Regions from separate parts of the Homo sapiens genome. Here region 1 is linked to region 2. The links are contacts of gene promoters, found by promoter capture Hi-C in human tissues and cell types (Jung and others, 2019). All regions are on one chromosome and are shown on one strand. Each heading gives the region's core, a stretch centred on a gene start or on the middle of the fragment in contact. The rest is flanking DNA. Distances are from core to core; before and after follow the strand shown. Region 1 overlaps NASP (nuclear autoantigenic sperm protein). Region 2 holds the start of TEX38 (testis expressed 38).

Region 1 (5,832 bases), core at 2,958-5,457, 1.1 Mb after region 2:
ATACTGACCTCTCCAGTAATCTGGGAAAAATAACCTAAGAGAAAGTATTTATGTGTGCTTAAAAACTTAGGTAACATTTTATGTTGTAAGACAACCATGCATTTTTAAATAAAAATACCTAAATACAGCTGGGCACAGTGGCTCACGCCTGTAATCCCAGAACTTTGGGAGGCCGAGGTAGGTGAATCACCTGAGGTCGGGCGTTCGAGACCAGCCTGACCAACATGGAGAAACCCCATCTCTACTAAAAATACAAAATTAGGCAGGCGTGGTGATGCATGCCTGTAATCCCAGCTACTTGGGAGGCAGAGGCAGGAGAATCACTTGAACCAGGGAGGCGGGGGTTGCAGTGAGCTGACATCGCGCCATCGCACTCCAGCCAGGGCAACAAGAGCGAAACTCCCATCTCAAAAAAAAAAAAAAAAAAAATCTCTAAATACTACCAGATAAAATTTAGTCTCTCAGAGCCCCAATTCATTAAGGTCAAACAGAGAGGAACAAAGAGGACAGGAATCAGACAAAAGATTTTTGCAGATATCCAGGAGTAAGATTCTGTTCTGGATGTTGGCAGAGGCAGTAGGGGTTTAGGAAAAGAATGGATTGATATTAAGCGTCAAACCTGAAACCCACAAACGCTTTGTTATAACCATTTCTTTTATAAGGAAGATTTAACTTAACTATATGTAATGTAATCAACTGTATGTAATGTATGCAATGATTGACCTTCAAGTTCAATTGCAATTGCTAATACTATATTTGAGGAAACTCAAACCTCGCCATAGACCAAAAGCCTGTTGCTTGACGATTTAACTTGCTTTTTTTTCTCTCAGATAATGGAGGTACATTAAAGTCTTTGGGGAAAATAAATGATCTTTAAGGCACTAAAGCTAACCTTTTCCTCCAGGATATAGGTCTATATGGCTACCTGGTGGTAGCTACCAACTTCTAAGCAAATCCAACAACAGTGCTAAGAATGTATGAAAAATGTGCTAAAAATGTATGAAAAAATGCTGTGCTAATAATAGCACTATCAATCATGACTTGCTTGGACCTAAAGAGTTTCCACAGACACAGAACTTCTAGTGTTAAAACTCGGAAAGTCAGGCTGGGGCTCAGTGGCTCATGCCTGTAATCCCTTTGCAAAGCACTCTGGGAGGCCAAGGTGGACGAATCGCTTAAGCCCAAGAGTTCGAGACCAGCCTGGGCAATGTGGGGAAACCCCATCTCTACCAAAAGAAATACAAAAATTAGCTGGGCATGGTGGCACACACCTATGGTCCCAGCTACTGGGGAGCCTGGGAGGTTGAGGCTGCAGTGAGCATGAGATTGTGCCACTGCACTCCAGCCTGGGTGACAGAGACCCTGTCTCAACAAAAAAAAGCGGGGGTGGAGAGATGGGGAGAGGGGTCCTAGATAAACCAGGACAAGGTGTGGTCACCCAAATTAGTAGTGACTGGAATACAAATTACATACTCAGGAAAATGAAAGGGTGGAACTGCTTGGTGATATTTAAGTTTTACACTTATAGTTACTGGTACAAACCACATGAAAAATAATCAAATGTTTTAAAACTCTTGCTCTTCATGCTTTTTCCCCATAAAATAATTTTTGATAACTCAAGGTTTATTAGAACATAATATTACATCATAGCAAAATATACAATACTTACAAAAGACTAGCTGCTTCCTGGAATGCATTGACAGCTGCTGGAATATCCCCCATCACCAGATGTTTCTGTCCTAAACCCAATAGTTTCTTAGCTTCACTATCCACATCCAGACTGCAAAAAAAAGATTTTTTCTAGTGTCAAGTACTGTTTAAATCAGTATTTTTTGAATACCTGCTACATTTGAGCAATAGTTTCATTTTTTAAAACTTTTGGACTACTCTGGCAAGGCCTGGCTAACACACTTATTTACCATCACAAAATCAAAAGAAATCTTAAAGGCAACATTCCCAGAAGCCTGACTAGAGTATTTTCTCAGTTGGGTGCGGTGACTCATGCCTGTAATCCCAGCACTTTGGGAGGCCGAGGCGGGCAGACCACGAGGTCAGGAGATCGAGACCATCCTGGCTAACATGGTGAAACCCCGTCTCTACTAAAAATACAAAAAATTAGCCGGGCGTGGTGGCGGGTGCCTGTAGTCCCAGCTACGGGAGGCTGAGGCAGTAGAATGGCATGAACCCAGGAGGCGGAGCTTGCAGTGAGCTGAGATGCGCCACTGCACTCCAGCCTGGTCAACAAAGCGAGACTCCACCTCAAAAAAAAAAAAAAAAAAAAAAAAAAAATTCTCTTAACGGCTCATCTAATCACAAAGCCTGTATTGTATATTACTATAAATATTTCCTAATTGATCCACAAATAAAAAAGGTATCATAAAAGAACCATAAATTCATACAAATTGCACTAGCTAAAAGAAATATTAAAATTAAGAAGCATTTAGGTAAACAGGGCAAGAGGCAGTGATTTCAAGATTAAGACAATGTAGTATTGGCATAAAGAAAACCAAATGGATCAAATAGAACACAGAGTACAAAAACAGATCCATGCATATATGACTGACTGAAATTTTGAAAAAGGTACCAAGGCAATGCAATGAGGAATGGATAATCTAACAAATGGTGCTGGAGTAATTATAAATCCACATGCAATAAAGTGAACCTCAACTGTTATCTCATATCTCATACAAAAATTAATCTGCAATGGATCATAGGCTTTCTAAATATAAGATTTAAACCATAAAGTTTCTACAAGAAAATACAGGATAAAATCTTAGTGACTTTGGCTTTGGCAAAGACTTCTTGAATATGAAAGAAAAAGCACAAACTATTAACAAGAGGAAAAAAAATCAATAAACTAGACACACCACTAAAATGAAAAACTTGGTTTTGAAAGACACTGTTATAAAAACAAAAAAGGCAGGCCCAACTGGGAGAAAATATATGCAAAACTTCTGATAAAGGACTTGAATATATAAAGAACTCTTAGAACGTAGTAATAAAAAACAATCCAATAAAAAGGGGGCGAAAGATTTTAACAAACATGTCATCAAAGATACACAGATGGCAAATAAGCACATGAAAAGATGCCAACATTATTGCTCACTCAAAAAAATACAAACTAAACCCACAATAAGATACTGCTATATTCACTATAATAGCTAAAATTTTAAAAGACTGACCACATATCAAATGATGGTGAGGATGTAGGGCAACTAGAACTGTCAAACACTGCTGGTAAGAATGTAATGGTAGAATCACTTTAGAAAACAGTTTGGACGTTTCTTAAAGTTAGATATATACCTACCATATGATCTAGCCATTCTACTCCTAGGTGTGAACCCAAAAAATGGAAATGAATGCCCATACAAAGACTTGTACACAAATATTCACAGCAGCTTTATTTGTAAGCCAAAAACTGGAAACCCAAATGGATAAACAAATTGTGATATATCTACATCATAAAATGTCATTCACTAACAAAAAGAATGAACTATTAATACAGGTGGTAACATGGATGAATCTCAAAATAATTATGCTGAATCAAAGAAACTATACAAAAAGAAACAGTACTTACTGTATGATTCTATTTAGATAATATTCTACAAAATGCAACCCATCTTCAGTGACAGAAAGCAGATTAATGGTTGCTGGGGAGGGAATGAAGTACAAAGGCACATGAGGAAAAAACTTTGAGGTGATGAAAATACTCATTATCTTGATTGTGATAATGGTTTACAGGTGTATACATATGTAGAAACTCATAATTGTTACTTTAAAGTTATGTGCAGTTTCCTGTATGTCACTTAGACTTTCATTTAATGTTTCTTATAGCTTTAAGAAAAACCTGGGTCAAAAGAGCAAGAGTCAGTGACATTTTAAGTTCCATTAATGAAAACCAAATTATTTGGAAGGATAATCCCTCTTCTTAATTCAATCAACAATACTTGGGTACCTGATATTGCTGGGCACAATTCCAGACACTGTGATTATAACAAGAATGAGCTAAGACCACAGGGACAATGTCAAATTGAAGCAGAGAACTTAAGAAGGCAAGCCAAAAAAAAAAAAAAAAAAAAAATACAGAGGAAAAGCACTCTAGGACAGAGGCAATAGTAAGTTCAAAGCTCTAAAAGAAGCTTGCTTAAAATATTTGAGAAACAGAAAACTCTTCTGGCTAGAGTAAGCTGGGGAAGAATTATGGGAAATAAAGGTGAGGAAGAGGGAGAGAGCAGCATCACATTAGTATAGACTTTAAGATAGAACAAGAACAGAACTGGGGAGAAAACCAGTTGGAAAGAAAGTCTGGCCGGGCAGCAGTGGCTCATGCCTGTAATCCCAGCACTTTGGGAGGCTGAGGCGGGCAGATCACAAGGTCAGGAGTTCGAAACCAGCCTGGCCAAGATGGTGAAACCCCCCTCTCTTCTGAAAATACAAAAGTTAGCCGGGCGTGGTGGTGTGTGCCTGTAGTCCCAGCTACTCGGGAGACTGAGGCAGAAGAATTGCTTGAACCAGGGAGGCAGAGGTTGCAGTGAGCCGAGATTGTGCCACTGCACTCCAGCCTGGGTGACAGGGCGAGACTCCATCTCAAAAAAAGAAAAGAAAAGAGAAGAAAAGAAAAAGTCTAAGGCTGAGCATGGTGGCTCATGCCTGTAGTCCCAGCACTTTGGGAGGCGAAGGTGGGAGGATCACTTGAGCCCAGGAGTTAGAGACTAGCATCTCTATAGGAAAATACAAAAATTAGCTGACATCACGGTATGCACCTGTAGTCCCCGTTACTCGCAAGGCTAAGGCAGGAAGACTGTTTGAGCCCAGGAATTCAAGGCTGCAGTGAACTAGGATCACACTGCTGCACTCCAGCGTGGGCAACAGAGCAAGACCCTATGTCCAAACAAACAAACAAACAAACAAACAAAAACACTCTTTCTCTATTTAAAAAAAAAGGAAAGAAACCGTAAAAATCTAGACAGGAACCTGAGGAGTATTAGAGAGGGTTAGATTCTGAATATACTTATTTTAAAATTTGCTAATGGACTAGATATATAATTTATTGAATGAAAGAGGTGAAGCAAATGTTTTTTTGGCCGGGGCAACTGGTATTAAGTGTTAATAATGGACTATGTAGAAATTTTATCTACATTTAAATCCTAGGATCTACACCTCATAAAGTTATTGAATTATTACCCCCACTTTACAGATGGAAAACTGAATATTAATGGCAGCGATTCAAATCTACACAATCTAGATGAAAAGTTCTAGAACAACATTGCCACTGACTGATTAAAAAGTCAACTGAAGGAAAAGCCAGTGAGAAACAAGGCAATCAATTACTGTACAGTATTTAGCTTTGGATATGTTAATTCTGAGATCCCTATTAGACCTCCAAGATATTAAAAGGGAGAAATTTGGGAGAGATATGGGGACTGGAGATACAAATGGGAGAGTCAGGTACTTAAAGCCACTGGACTTAACAGAGGAGAATACACAGGGAGTGGCTACTAATAAAGACGTTGTAGGACTGACTGAGCCCTGGGAGCCTTCCAACATTTAGAGGTAGGGACGACAAGGAAGAATGGGGGTTGAGGGGAATAGCCAGTGAAGGAAAAGAGACAAGAAAATAGTATGAAGAAAACTAATGGGTCCAGGCACAGTGACTGGCCAACATGGCGAAACCCCGTCTCTACTAAAAATACAAAATTAGCCGGGCATGGTGGTGCACACCTGTAATCCCAGCTATTTGGGAGGCTGAGGCAGGAGAATTGCTTAAACCTGGGAGAAGGAGGCTGCAGTGAGCCAAGATCGTGCCATTGCATTCAAGCCTGGGTGACAGAG
Region 2 (5,729 bases), core at 1,008-3,507:
CCCTTGGAACCTGTCTCTTCATCCATAAGAGGAGGATCATGATATCCATTTGGCAGTGTTCTTGTGAATTATTAGAAATAATGTAAAGAGGCAACCACGTAAGAGCTGCATACATCATAGATAATAACAAAGAATGCATTTCAGCCCATAGTGCAGTGTGGCTCACAGGGCTCGTGATGACTCATTTTGCCTGTGACATAGCGACTGTAAATCAACATAGCTCACGTACCCTCAGCAGCTATCACTCTGGTGGCAGCTGTGCTTCACATCCCACAGAACACCAGTGCCTTGGGGTACCTAGGCCAGGGCCTGGCACACATTTTTGTTTTAAATACTGAACAGAGGGATATTGAGTCCATCCACAAGTACTGGTTCAGTGTGTCTCCCCACAGCCAACCACCAGTGCCAGTTCATATTGGTGAGACTCAGCAACCAACTTGGTTTGCAAAGTGACCCCATCAGACAGGAAGGACATTGCCTTCCTAACAGCAAATGAGAAACGAGGGAGCCTTGGACTTTTTTTTTTTTCTTTTAATGTTTCATAGCATGACATCCAGGTGGGTCCTGACCTCTGTCAATACCACCTTCCTGAGGTTAGTTCCATTTCCTACTCTGCACCTGATTCCTGCAGCTCCCACCTTCAGTGAGAGGAGGCTACAGTTCTGAAGGAAAAGGCTTGGCATTGAAGCTATGGTCTTCCTGGGCCAGATTCAGGAGGGAATGGAAGAGAACATTCCTTTCAGGACAGGTGGCCAAAGGATAGGAGACAGAGTGGTTCAGCAGGGGGGGTAGGTTGCACAAGGGTGGGGCAAAGGGCACCTCCTGAAAGATGGGAAGTGGGAATGGGGATCTGGCCTGGGGCTGCTGTGGAGCCAGCTGCAGTGCAGGTTGCAGGGGAGCAGGGGCTTCCGCCTTGGGGTTGCTGTCTTGGTCAGCATGGCTCCTGCCTTCGGGGATGTCCAAATCCCACAGAACATCTGGATTCTGGACCTCAGTCTCAGTCTTGGTGACAGCAGGGGCAGGGCCCGTGTTGATGGCTGCATTCATGCCGTAGCGCCGTCGCTTGTTAATCCAGTACAACAATGGGCTGTAGGTGAATGTGGCAGCTCTCATCACCTCCACCCACTGCTGGGCATGCTCTTCCCGCCTCAAGTTCTTCCTCCAGTGCAGAAAGATAATGCACCCTCCAGTTATCACAGAACACAGCCCCAGGATTCCAAAGTACAATGAGACCCACACTAAGGCAGCAAGAAAGAAAAAGAGGCATGCTGGCTGATAGCTGTAGCTTGGGGCCTGAGCTGTTTCTCATTCCTCTTTCACTTAACCCATGCATCAATCGCTCCATCCACTTAACTACTCTCACCGTTCCTTCCCTCCCTTATTGACTTGCCTCATCATTCCCTTATTCAGTCAAAGCTAGATTTCCAGGGAGCTTAAGCACCACCTTTAACTCTTTACAGATCACAAAAGCTAGGTCTAGCGGGGGCATGTGCTGCCCAGGCTCAGTCAAGCCTCTGATTCCTAACCCAGGACCCATCCAATCCATCAGACTGAGAAGTTTCACTATGGGCAAGTCCATCAAGAAGCAAAAGTTCACCAGCACTTTGTGAGGCCCAGGTGGGCAGATCACTTGAGGTCAGGACTTCAAGTCCAGCCTGGCCAACATGGTGAAACCCCGTCTCTACTAAAAATTTTAAAATTAGCCAGGTGTGGTGGTGCATGCCTGCAGTCCCAGCTACTTCAGAGGCTGAGGCAGGAGAATCACTTGAATCCAGGAGGTGGAGGTTACAGTGAGCCTAGATTGAGCCACTGCACTCCAGCCGGGGCAACAGAGCAAAACTTCATCTCAAAAAAAAAAAAAAAAGTGAAAGTTCATCAGTTGACAGAGACACCAATGTCCCATCCCATTCCATTCAGCTGTGATAGTCCTGGGCTATTGATAGTATCTTCTCTGGTTGATCAGAGCATGGTCTTTGCCTTAAAATAATTCTTAGTTTTCTAGAGTAGACTATCTCCTAACTGCTTAGCTCTCCTCCAGGCAGCCAGGCACTGTCCCATCCATGCAAAGGGCCTTCCCTGAGTGTTTGTCCCCAAGCCCTAAGGCACAAGTCCAGTGACAGGGACTGGAGGAGCACTTACTCCCAGGGAAGCGCAGGTCCTCCTGTTGGGAATCCATACAGCTGAGCTTTGGTACCTGGCCGATGGCTCTGGGGAGAGGGAACTCACCCACCCATCTGCCCAGCCAGTCAGCCCATCTGCCCAGCCAATCAGAGTCTCCAGAATGCCCAGGCCCTTTGTTCTCTAAAGGAGAGGTCACTGGGTTCTGAGAATTGGGCATTCTAGGGGCAGTGCTTGTGAAGTGGTCCTGGGTTAATGGAAGGAGGGGACTTCATCCAGTGGCATTTTTTGGGTGGAATGTCACTACTACTTCCATCAGAGACTGGTTCACCTATTGAATTGTCTGTACCTACCCCTTATGGTGAACCCACAGAGCAGACCCCAGAAAAGGGCCATTGTCCCTCAGGTACTTACGGATGTTGCTGGTCTTTAGGGAACGGTTGATGGGATACCTGTCCCCAGTGAGGAATGTAACAAGGAACACACAGCATTGGGCAGCCCTGTTCTCAAAAAGTATCTAACCAAGTTGGCAGGAAGAAACCTGCTCAAGGGAACCAAGTGGTCAATACCTCCTTCTTTGGCTCCAACAATCTGTCTTTTATTTAATTACCTTCCTTCAAGTGCTGACAAGTGTTTCCCAGGCCCCAGGCCCTGTGGGGCTTCCCACCATCTGGCCTGCATCTACTTCCAGCCTTACTTCCCTCCTCGTCCTCCACACACTTTTCCCTTTTGCCTAGTCCGTACTCCTGAACAGACCCTGCTCATTCACATCTCTGGAGGTGTGCCCATGCTGCTCCTTCACCCAGGAGTGCCCCTGCCCACTTTTCCACCACTGAACACCTGCTCATCCTTCAAGACTCAGCTCAGCCCCCCTACTCTGTGACAGACTGCCCAGAATCATATCATCGCCAATTTGAAGAAACTTTGAGAGTTGTCTAGTTCATCTCCACCATCTGATCCCACCATCAGGGCCATGCTTGACTCCTGGGGGTAGATTTTTCCCCACACAGCAACTAATCTCCCTGGACTCAAGACTCACTTGAGTCAGGAACTTGCTCACCACCTCCTGAGGCAGCTTGATGCATTTATGGGCAGCTCAGTTAGAAAGCCCTTCCCTAATTAAGCTTAAGTCAGCCTTCCCAGTATGTTGCACCACTGCTTGTAGCTCAGCTTCTTAGCACCATTTTAATGACTCCCCTCTTTATAGTCCTCCAATGTGTGACTTAGGGAACTATTTAGCACAGAATTCTCTCCAGGGTCCACTTACCCTTGTTCTCCTCGTATATCACTGGCCCCTACTTTCCAGTCTCCTTTGCTGGTTTCTCCCTTTTCCCCTGATCTCTAAATGTAGGCATGTCTAGGGCTCAGTTCTTAGTGCTCTATCTACATTCATTCCATCAGTTATCTCACCCAGACCCCTGGCTTTAAATATCACTATACACTGACAGTACGCAACTGTATCTCTCCAGCCTGGAATGCTCCTCAGAACTTTAGACTCATACCCAAATACCTGGTTGACATCCCTCCTTGCCAGTCTGTTAAATTATCCCAAACCAACATGTCCAAAACCAAACTCTGATTATCCATCCTCCAAAGTCTACCCTACCTACAGCCTTCCTCCTCTTCATAAGTAGTATCTCTGTCCTTCGGGTTGTTCAGGCCAAAAACCTGCAAGTCATCCTTGACTCCTTTCATTCTATCACACCCACACTGACTCCATCAGCAAGATCTTTAGGCTTTTATTTCAAAATATAACCAAAATCTGGCCACTTTTTTTTATCACTATCACTTTAGTCCAAGTACCACCATCTCTCACTTGGATTACTGTTCCCTGTAGGGTGACCAACATCCTGGTTTGCCCAGGACTTGGGGTGGGTTCTCAGGACATGGGGCTTTCAATGCTAGAGCCAAGAAAGTCCTAGGCAAACTGGAATAAATTAGTCACCCTTGGGAGAGTTTCCATCCTTGCCTCCACATATCCTAAATCCCACCAGCAGCCAGCATGATCCTTTTAAAAAGTAGATCATGTTACTCCACTGCTTAAAACATATAGTAACTTCCGATCTCATTCGATTTAAAATCAAAGTCCTTAACCAAGGCCTAAGCAATCTAACTAGCCCTCCCTATACCTTCTTGGTCTCATTTCTGCTGCTGTGCCCTCACTCATTCAGACTCAATAACCTCCTCATCAGGGCCTTTGCACTTGCTGTTTCCCCTACCTGGAAGGCTCTTCCCCCAGCATTCCCACATTACCTTCAGGTCTCTGCTCAAGTGTCCCCTTATCTCTATCTCTCTTGGCCTGCTGTTTTTCTGCATACCATGTAGCATCACCTAACATTATATATTTACTGTCTGTTTCACTCCACTAGAATGTAAGCTCAATGAATTAATATAAACAAGGATCTAAGAACTTCAGATAATGATAACTGCTATAAAGAGAATGCAATAGAGTGATGGGATAAAGACTATAAAGAGATGGAGGGGTTGTCATTTAGGTCCCTTGGAGGTGCTTACATGTGAACTGAGCCCTTAGATGATGAGGAGGCAGCCACATGCAGATCCACAGAGAAAACAGCAAGTGTTAGGAGTGTGAGCCAGGTATGGGCTGGCATACTTGAAGGACTTATTCATCTTCCATTACACTGTTCCTCGCACAGGGCAGGGCTCAGGGCTGATCTCCATGAGCATAGGTTGGATTGAGCAGAGTTGAAGGCTCTGCCCCTGTCCCAGGAGGGGCTTCAATCAGACAAAACCCAGACAAGAAGGACCTGATGATGAGTACTGTCCCAGAGAGCCCACTCCAGGACTGGCCCTGTTCTGTGAGCAGGTGGGACACAGAGATGTTAATGTCACTGTCCCTGACCCTAGGAGCTCACACCTGGTTCAGACGGTAAGGAAGATTGTGGCATTTGGGTTGAGAGAATGGAAGGAGAGAGGATTCCAGGGGTCAAAAAGGGCCTGAATAAGGACTCTTCAAGGAGTAATCCTGGTGTTTCTTTGGGAGAGAATAGGTCACTGTGGCTGGAGTTCAAGGAGGATGTCAGGAAGCAGAGGAAAAGGAGGCTTGGGAGGCAGCTGCCATCTTGAAAAGAGCTCAGCTGTCGGGTAGAACTTGAACAAGTCACATAATTACTCTCGGCCTCAGTTTCCTTATTTGTTAGATGAGGATAATACTGCCACACAGAGTATGAAGCCGCTCAGTGTCCTGCACATAGCAACCTCAGTAAAGAGAAGCTTGCTGCTGTGATTATAGTTGATGAAAAGACCTTCGATGCTGAAGGACGGACTACTACATCGAGTGCCTGGCACTACAGCGAGTGCCAGGGGCAAGCACCGCGAGGACATGGAGATCCGCTGGCTTTAGAGAACGGACTTGGCGCGCAGAGGCTGCTGGTCCCAGAGGGAGGAAGGGCGTTGAATTTGGGCAGCCTCCCTGGAGGAGGCGGGCCGTGGCATACACAGGGCGGCGAGAGCGCGCAGTGCCGGGGCCAGAGCGGCGCGCCCCCTCCTCCCCGCCCCGCCTCGCCGCTATCCCGCGCCCGGAACCTTGGGCGCGCGGAACCTCGGTGCCGGAGCGCGGGCGCGGCGCACTCGGAGCGGGATGGAGCGGG

Evidence for each region. The method cuts DNA at HindIII sites, captures the fragments that hold promoters and counts their contacts. A contact is called where the count stands out against the background at its distance.
Region 1: a fragment that was not itself captured here is called in contact with the fragment with the promoter of TEX38 in region 2 in 1 of the 25 tissues and cell types used here (aorta).

Annotation. Positions count from the first base shown.
Region 1 is chr1:45,598,203-45,604,034 of GRCh38, reverse strand. NASP (nuclear autoantigenic sperm protein) reads right to left here. Exons shown (of 15, transcript NM_002482.4): 3 at 1,670-1,780. Among named protein-coding and RNA genes, the nearest start is that of NASP, 17 kb to the right of the region's middle. The HindIII fragment of the contact is 7,294 bases long and covers 561-5,832 here.
Region 2 is chr1:46,668,382-46,674,110 of GRCh38, reverse strand. TEX38 (testis expressed 38) reads right to left here and starts at 2,257. Exons shown (of 2, transcript NM_001145474.4): 1 at 2,140-2,257; 2 at 517-1,238. The coding sequence starts at 2,176. The coding sequence ends at 655. It overlaps EFCAB14-AS1 (EFCAB14 antisense RNA 1), which reads right to left and starts at 75. Exons shown (of 3, transcript NR_038828.1): 1 at 1-75. It also overlaps a transcript of ATPAF1 not described here. RefSeq lists an enhancer at 5,298-5,447 and a silencer at 5,558-5,729. The HindIII fragment of the contact is 2,938 bases long and covers 1,360-4,297 here.